2 separate regions of the Homo sapiens genome follow, and region 2 is linked to region 1. Evidence: promoter capture Hi-C in 16 types of primary human blood cells and fetal thymus (Javierre and others, 2016). All regions are on one chromosome and are shown on one strand. Each heading gives the region's core, a stretch centred on a gene start or on the middle of the fragment in contact. The rest is flanking DNA. Distances are from core to core; before and after follow the strand shown.

What was found. Contacts are between HindIII fragments. The CHiCAGO score rates a contact against its expected background, and 5 or more counts as called.
Region 2: a fragment that was not itself captured here is called in contact with the fragment with the promoter of EIF4G2 in region 1 in 2 of 17 cell types (naive CD4 T cells and total CD8 T cells); the score reaches 6.3 in naive CD4 T cells.

The regions. Positions count from the first base shown.
Region 1 is chr11:10,807,106-10,811,224 of GRCh38, forward strand. EIF4G2 (eukaryotic translation initiation factor 4 gamma 2) reads right to left here and starts at 1,821. Exons shown (of 22, transcript NM_001418.4): 1 at 1,600-1,821; 2 at 150-276. The coding sequence starts at 190. It overlaps LOC101928053 (a long non-coding RNA gene), which reads left to right and starts at 2,192. Exons shown (of 3, transcript NR_120540.1): 1 at 2,192-2,261; 2 at 2,752-2,816. RefSeq lists enhancers at 594-673, 1,404-1,663, 2,174-2,223, 2,299-2,905 and a silencer at 1,944-1,993. The HindIII fragment of the contact is 4,879 bases long and covers 1-2,774 here.
Region 2 is chr11:11,799,445-11,803,563 of GRCh38, forward strand. No RefSeq gene overlaps it. Among named protein-coding and RNA genes, the nearest start is that of MIR8070, 18 kb to the left of the region's middle. The HindIII fragment of the contact is 1,631 bases long and covers 1,054-2,684 here.

The DNA of each region.
Region 1 (4,119 bases), core at 571-3,070:
AGATGGCAGTTCTTAGAAGGCTGTCAATGAAAACTTAAGAACTTTTCAAATGAAAATTGCAGCCCATTAAGTCGGACTTATTTGCTGTGTTAACTACTTTTTGAGACTGGCCTTTTCAAAAGGATTCCCCAAAATAAATCTACAAGTACCTGAAACGAGAAGCACCCCCTTCTGCAATCGCACTCTCCACTTTGGCGGCTTGACAACGAAGAATCTTCAAAAGAATAATATTAATAGATGGGGTGGGGAGGGGAGGGGACAGGAGAAATGAAATACCTGGAACGAGAAAGAGCACCAAAATTAGACACTGCTAACATACAGATCTATAAGCCTTCATTCAATTACAACGTATTTCAGATCCTGGCACTGTCACTGCATTGCAGATCTGTAAGACTAACCTAAAATGTACTCAAAACACTGACAATTACATTTTGTTTAGCCACCTGGAAATTCCCCGGTGTTCAAGGATGCAAAGAGACTTCGTAGAACACAAGAGCATTTTAAACGGCTCAGAACGAATCTTTTGAAAAAGCCACATTCTACTATCTTTAAAACTGAGCACTGAGATCAATAGAAAAGTCTAACTACAGACACGAGCAACATCACGTGGAAAATGTCTGCCCTAGGAATTTTTACTGCCTTGACGAGGCCAGCGACTAGATGAGGTCTCTCCGAAAGCTCTTCAGCAGTTTTCCCCTGTCCACCCTTTCGCCTCCTCCCCGTGGAGAGCTCGTGGAAAGACGCGCGAGAGGGGGCCGGGTGTACAGGACTAGCACTTGCAGGCGGAAGACCAGGGCCACAACATGGCAGCAGGAACCTCCGCCCCGTTTTTCCCTTCCTGGGAACAAAAGAGCGGAGCATTCCTCCCACCCAGGCGCAAGTTAGGGAAGTGCTTCCGACAACCTCCCCGCGAGGCCCGGGTCGCTCGACGGGGAGGAGCAGCTGAGGCCACCCCCGCCAGCCCGGCGCCCAGCTCTTTGTTCTCCAAGCAGGAAGGCGGCCTCCTGCCCACCCGCCGCCTCCAAGCGGGCCCCCTCCTGCACCATAAATCCCCCCGGGACTGACAACCGCCTCGCCACGGCCTCCTCTGCTGACAAAAGGGGCAGAAATCATCACTCTCTCTTTCCTCCCCGACGAAGGGCAGCCCCTGCCGACTCCAGGTCCTACACACCTCCCCGCCGGGAGGCCAGGCTCCGGGACGCCTGCGGTTCCCTGGTCCCGCGCCAACGGCCTGGCCTTCCCTGCCGGCCCGCGTGCCTCCCGCCACGGCGCTAGCGGTCCGAGCCACGCTCCCTCGCCGTCCGAGCACAGCCGTGCCTCGGTCCGCCACGGCCTCGTCCCTGCAGGCGTCGGCCATCCGGCCATGACCGCACGGCGGCCTGGCCAACACTGACGTTTTCCTTCTACTCCGTCAGCAACAGGAAGAGAGAACAAAAGCCAAGACTTTCCAGGTATCTGAAGCGCAGAGGAAATGCTAAAAAAGGGTCGCCCCACCCGGCTCCGCCTGCGGCCGCCATTTTGTACCACTCGAGAAGAAGCGACCAGGGACGGCGGCCATTTTAGAGCGCTCCACTCGGCGGCGGCAGCGGCTCAACTCACCTTCACCGAGAACTCAGCAGCTGCCACCGCAGCTGCCTCCTCAGGATCCGGTCGTCGGGGATAGGGAAGGGAGGGGAAAGGGGAACGGAAAACAAAAAAAAGGGGGAGGGAAGGGGGAGGAAGGAGTCGGGGACGGCCTCAAACTCAGCTCAGAGGAGTCGCTGCTGCAGCCGCCACTCGGTACCCGCTGCCACCTCCATAGAGCTCCGACTCACTGCTGGCGCTAAGGCGTGTCTGAAGCCGAACTTATCACTCTTGGGGCAGCCGAACCCACCAGAGTCTCCCCGAATGGCTCCTTCGCCGCCCAATCAGCGGCCCGGTTGCCGTCTGCCACCAATCCGCGCAGGGCAGCGAGGAGGAGCCACAGGGCTGAGCTCGGTTGCGGCGCAGCCCCGCCGCAGTGCGCAAAGCCATATTCGCGAAGTCTCTGAGGCTGAGCCAGTGGCGTAAGGGGCGCCGAGCGCTGTCGAGATGAGGGTTGCGTGCGTAAAGCCGGAGAGCCCTTTTGAGTCTGCGTTGGCGTGGCTGCTGCTTCTTGCTCCAGTCCCTTTGTTCACTGAGTCCATATGCCATGCTCCAGTTGTATCATCCCCTTTTCCCTCGACCTCGTTTTCTCACCGGGAATATGGGAAGAAAACGCACCCTTACCTCCCCCGAACCCTGTGCGTGGCGAGTGAGCATTGCTTTTCTTGGCGCCCCTTGGAGCTGTGGCTGCCCTCGCGTGCCTGGCCTCTCCCGGGGCTGAGCCCTTCGGGTTGAGGCCTGGAGCCCCCGGGCGCAGCGCCGGGACACTACCCGGCTCCAGGTCCTCGGCTTCGGCAGCCTTAGGGAACCCAGAAAGTAGTGGGGAGGAGGCGAGACGTGCGCCCGGATGCCAAAGGGGAGCTTCATTCAGCTCCTTATTGGCCCACCCCCTGCAGAGTGAATGAGAAAGTGATGAAAGGAAGGGGTTGATTTTCTTCGAACCGCACAGAAGAAGCTGCTTTTCCCATAGGAATGTCCGGCTGGCGGTCACCGAGGAAAACACCCTGTGTGTCAGACTTCCGCGGGTGTTTGGAGGATTTCGAATTGCTAGCTCCTGTTTTTTTTTGTTTTTTGTTTGTTTAAGTGCACGTTAAACATTGTCAGTTGTGTATTTTCATTTTATTTAAGGTTCACCATAAGAAATAGGATTAAGCTTTTCAAAGCCGGCAAGTTGAACTATTTATACTTACCAGGTAATGTATTGATGAGTACCTTATTCCATCGTTTGCGACATTGTAGCTATACTAAAATGGAGTCATACTTCCATAAACTTAAACAACAAAAATGTCCCCATCTCCATTTTAACATGTAGTACTTTTACAGTGTATAGTCAAAGGCAAGAATGTGTGTGTTTTAACATGAATGACTTTTAAAGTGTTCAGTAAGAGGCAGGATTTTCAAAGACCCAAACTTAACCTTTGATGTGTCAAAACAGCTCTTGGTATTAGAGCACCTGGTCCTTAATACAATTTTCCGGAAAATTGCAGTTTTTCCTACGACATTTAAATGTAATAGAAGGCTGTGGTGTGGCTCTGAAGGTTTTTAACACAATTCCAACATCTGTAGATCTTTGCTATAGAATAGTCACCATTCCCTACTTTACTGTTACTACACTTATTGCTATTACATCAATTTTACTTGAACTTTAAAACTTGGAAGAGATATTCTAAAAAAAAAAAAAAACTATTTTGGGGTGGTGGTGGTGGTGCAAGTTTTGTTTTAAATACAAGAGGTTTCACTTTGTATTTCTTTGGACCCTTCTAGCTTCATGATAACACGAGAATAATGTTTCTTTATAATTTCTGTAGGGCTTTAAGGTTTGGAAAAATGCATTAGTATATGTGATATTTTTACATAACTGGTTTACATTCCATTTATCTGATAATGAACGAATACATTAGTTTACTAAGAAGAGTAGTATTCAAAAACTATTGTCTAGACTTCAAAGAGAATATTCACCTAGCCGTAAAAGTCGGATGTTCTTATAATTAAGACACTTAAAATTCAGTAATTAAAAATTTAAAAAAGGTTTTACTTAATATTTTATTTAATCTTTGCTAATTGGGAACCCTTTTGGTATGGGCTTTGCAGATATGAGTTTATGTGAGAAATTGACCTGGAAGGGAATAACCTAAGGTAGAAAAAGTAAAAATATTGATAAAACAATCTTTCAATTACCTTTCTCTCACTTAAATAGAAAGATTTGAAGTTGAAATCGTACCTGCAAAGCCCATTGCAGAAGGGTTCACAATTAGCAAAGATTAAATAAAAACATTAAGTAAAACCTTTAGAAAAAAAAATTTTTTTTTGAGACAGAGTCTCACTTTGTCACTCAGGCTGGAGTGTAGTGGTGTGATCTCTGCACACTGCAGCCTCCACCTCCTGGGTTCAAGCAGTTCTCGTGCCTCAGCCTCCTGAGTAGCTGGGATTACAAGCATGTGCCACCACGCCCAGCTAATTTTTGTATTTCTACTTGAGATGGGGTTTCACCATGTT
Region 2 (4,119 bases), core at 619-3,118, 990 kb after region 1:
ACATGCTATACAACAGGCATTGTACTTTTTTCTCTGTACATGATATCATTTGACCCTCACGTTGCCCCTGTGAAGAATTATGATTATTAGGAAACTAAGGTTCAGAAGAATAAGTGATATCCCAAGGTCACATGGCTTCTAAAGGCCAGACAGTCCAAGGCAGAGTGGAGCACATGAGCAAAGACACAGAAACAGGGAAAGCAAAGTATTCACAGTGCCCTACAAGCAGCTGGGTATTCTTGGAGAATAAAACAAGAAGGACATAGAGACAGAGACCACCTATCACAACACAGAATATACTGTTAGGCTAATGACTTTATCATGCAAATGACTGAAAGCCTTTGAAGAGTTTTAAACAGGAGAGTGACATGCCAGACTTATGTTTTAGGAACTGTGGCAGAGAATGGATCGGAGAAAATAAGACTGAAGGCAGGAAGACCAGATGGAAACTGTTGAAGTAATAAAGAAATGATGACAGCTTTGTGCCTTCTCCATCTCTTTTATATGGAGGGACAGCCCTGGAATAGAAAAATGTTTAGGAGGTAAAATCAGCAGGTCTTGGTGAAGTATTACATAAGGTGTCAGCCTACGGCATCTCCAGCCTATTCTCCCATGCCTTGGACTGACGTATACAATCATCTTGTAAATGACCCATGTCAAATTGTGCAGAGAATACATGAATGAACAAAGCAAAGTTTCTGATGACCTTCTAGTTGGAGCAGACAATACCAAATAAACAAGAAAAATATCCAACAGAGATAAGTGTTATGCAGACAATTAAAATATGGTGATGTGATAGGTGTCGGGCTCCTTTAGAATGAGTGGTCAGGGAAACCTCTCTGAGATGTCATTTAGACTTTCTAAGGCCATGTGAAAATCAGGGAAAGAAGTGGCTTACGAGGTTGAAAAAATCCAAAGCAGGCCAGTGAAGCTAGAATAGAATGGGCAAAGGAGAAAAGGGAATAAGGTAAGATTAGAGAGATCGGCCAGAGGCCAGATCACACAGGACTTTGGAAGTAAGGTTTGGGAACCTAGATTTTGAGTATCATGGGAAGCTTGTGGAAGGTTTTAATCAAGGGAATGACCTTATCTAATGTAAGTTGCTAAGTGATCTCCCTGGCTTCTGTATGAAAAATGAAGGCAGGGGAATAGCGAAAGCAGGGATAGTTGTTCCACTGAGAAATGATGGTGGTCTGGAGCAAAGTAAATGGATTACGGACCTCTTCTGATAGAGTAGAGTGGAAGGTAAGAGAGAGACGAATCAAGGGTGACTCTCTATTTTGGCTTGGGCAACAAGGATGGAGAAGCCATGAAGGAGCAATTTGACATGGAGAAATCAAGAGCTTTGTTTTGGACGTGTGGAGTTTGAGATGTCTACTAGAGACCCAAGGGAATATGCCAAGTAGGCAGCTGGAAATACAAGTCTGGAATTCAGGACAGAAAGTGCATATAGAAATGCACATTCCAGAATGATCAGCCTATAGTTGGCATTTAAAGTCAGAACACCAGCTGAGATTTCTTACTGAGTAAGAAAGAGCAGAGATGAGGCTGAGAAGTGAGCTCTGAGACATTCAAATATTTGGACGTCAGAAAAAAAAGAGGAGCTAGGGAAGAAGATAAGATGGAACAGCCAATGGGTGAAAAGAAGTCAAAGACTTCTGCAGTGTCCCCATAACCAAATGAAGAAAGTGGTCAAGAAAGGGAAAGGAACCAACTGTGTCAAATATCACTAAAAGTTCAAGTTGAAAGAGGACTGAGAACCAACCATCAGATTTTACAAGATGGATGCTATTAACGCATACGGAAAGAGATCTCAGGGGATTGGCAAGGACAAAGTTCAATAAGAGCAAATTAAAGGGAGAAAGGAAGTAAGGAAATGGCCTCAATGTCCCTAGGAGGAAAAACCACATGCCAGGGATGAGAACTCAGGGGTGGTATAGGGCTTGAGGAAGGTGGTGAAGGCTAAGGCAAGTAATGAGCTCTTGAAGGAGGAGCTAATCGCAGTGGCACAGTGTGTGTAATCTACACTTCTTCTAGCAGCAGGAGCAGCAGCCCAGAAGTAGGAGCTGAGAAGACAGAGGTCTCATACATCCAGAGTTAGTTTTCTGATGGATGAGTCCAGCCAAATGAGAGAAAGTGAGGGAACCCAGAGTTCTGACAAGGAAGTGGCTCAGATAATTAACCATGTGAGTTCACAAAGAAAAATGTGCAGGGCAGTACTTGTGGGATGGGACAAAAACAGGAGCCAAGGACTTGAGGACTCTTTGTGGAAGAAGAACAGGCAGGGGAGGAATGAGTACTAACAGAGCTGAATAAGAAGCTGGTCGGAAGGAGAGATTAAGGTAACAAGACCATGAGAAGGTCCTTAGCTAACTGGGAAATCAGTCCTGGAGTCACACTGGCAGCGGCTCCATCTTCGCGAAGAACAGGTTGGTACCAAGACTTGTCCCCAGAGCAGTCCTATTCCATTCATTGCATTTCCAGAGATTGACAATGCCAGGTGAGCTAACCATGCCTTTCACAACAGGTGGGTCCTGGGTTGGCTCTGCAGCAGTGTGCGTGCTCATTATAGGTAAGACCTGCCTGCAGGGCTGGAGGGGATTTGCTCCTGGCCTTCAGAACATCACGTTGTACATTCTTCCAAAGCAATGTCCCCTTGTGTTTTTGATGTTCCTAGAGACGCAAGCTTGGGTCCATGAACAATCTAAGAAAATCCTGGACTCAGAAATGCTTCTTCTTTTACACAGATGAGGTAGTGTTTTTGACCCAAATTATCTCCATTATGATAAACACCTTCCCTCAGACCTTAGCGCAAATAGATAAGCCCACTCCTCCACACATGCCCTGGCATACTTGGCCCGTAAATGGAAGATAGCTTTATTTCAAGGCAAAACCCTACTACACTGATATTTTTTTCTACTGTGTTGTGAGATATTGGGGAGAAATTGGGGATAAGAACAGTGCACCACTTCCACAGCACATAATAAGCACTCAGTAAATATTTTGTATTGGAATGAATGAATGGACACAATTTAGAAAACAGGGAAACAAAAGAGAAGAGAAAAGAAAGAGGTACCAAAACTTTTAGAAAAAAATTAAAACATCGTCTTTTTTTTTTTGAGACAGAGTCTCATTCTTGCCAGGCTGGAGTGCGGTGATGCGATCTCGGCTCACTGCAACCTCTGCCTCCCGGGTTCAAACGATTCTCCTGCCTCAGCCTCCCAATTAGTTGGGACTACAGGTGCATGCCACCATACCCAGCTATTTTTTTTTTTTTTTTTGGATTTTTAGCAGAGACAGGGTTTCACCATATTGGCCAGGATGGTCTCGATCTCCTGACCTCATGAACCGCCTGCCTCAGGCTCCCAAAGTGCTGGGATAACAGGTGTGGGCCACCATGCCCGGCCAAAACATAGTCATTTTTACATTTGCCAAAAATCCCTCTTTGTAAACTATCAAGGAACAATTTTTTTACTATTCACTCAACTATTTCCTATAAATAAACACAGCCACACTGAGGATTATTACTTTTTTAAAAAACTTTTTTTTTTTTTTCTGAGACAGAGTCTTGCTCTGTTGCCCAGGCTAGAGTGCACTGGTACAATCTCAGCTCACTGCAACCACCGCCTCCCAGGTTCAAGTGATTCTTGTGACAGCCTCCCAAGAAGCTGGGATTACAGGCATGTGCCACCCACCTAACTAATTTTTGTATTTTTAGTAGAGACAGGGTTTCGCCATGTTGTCCAGGCTGGTCTGAAACTCCTGGCCTCAAGCAATCTGCCCACCTGGATCTCCCAAAGTGCTGGGATTACAGGAGTGAGTCACCGTGCCTGGCCTTAGAAACTTCTTTTCTAGAAAAGTAGTCAACTAACATTAGTATTTTCTACTTTTACTCAAAACGGAGGTCAGCTACCATTGCTTTATCTATATTAGCTGACAATTCAGTGTTAACACCTCGAGAGATACAGAAACAATATAAATGTTCATCAATGGATACATAAGTAAAATGTAGTATATAAATATAAAGGAATACAATTCATCCTGAAAAAAGAAAGCGAGCCTGTTATTTGCTGCAACATGGGTGGATCTAGAGAACATTATGCTACATGAAACAAGCCA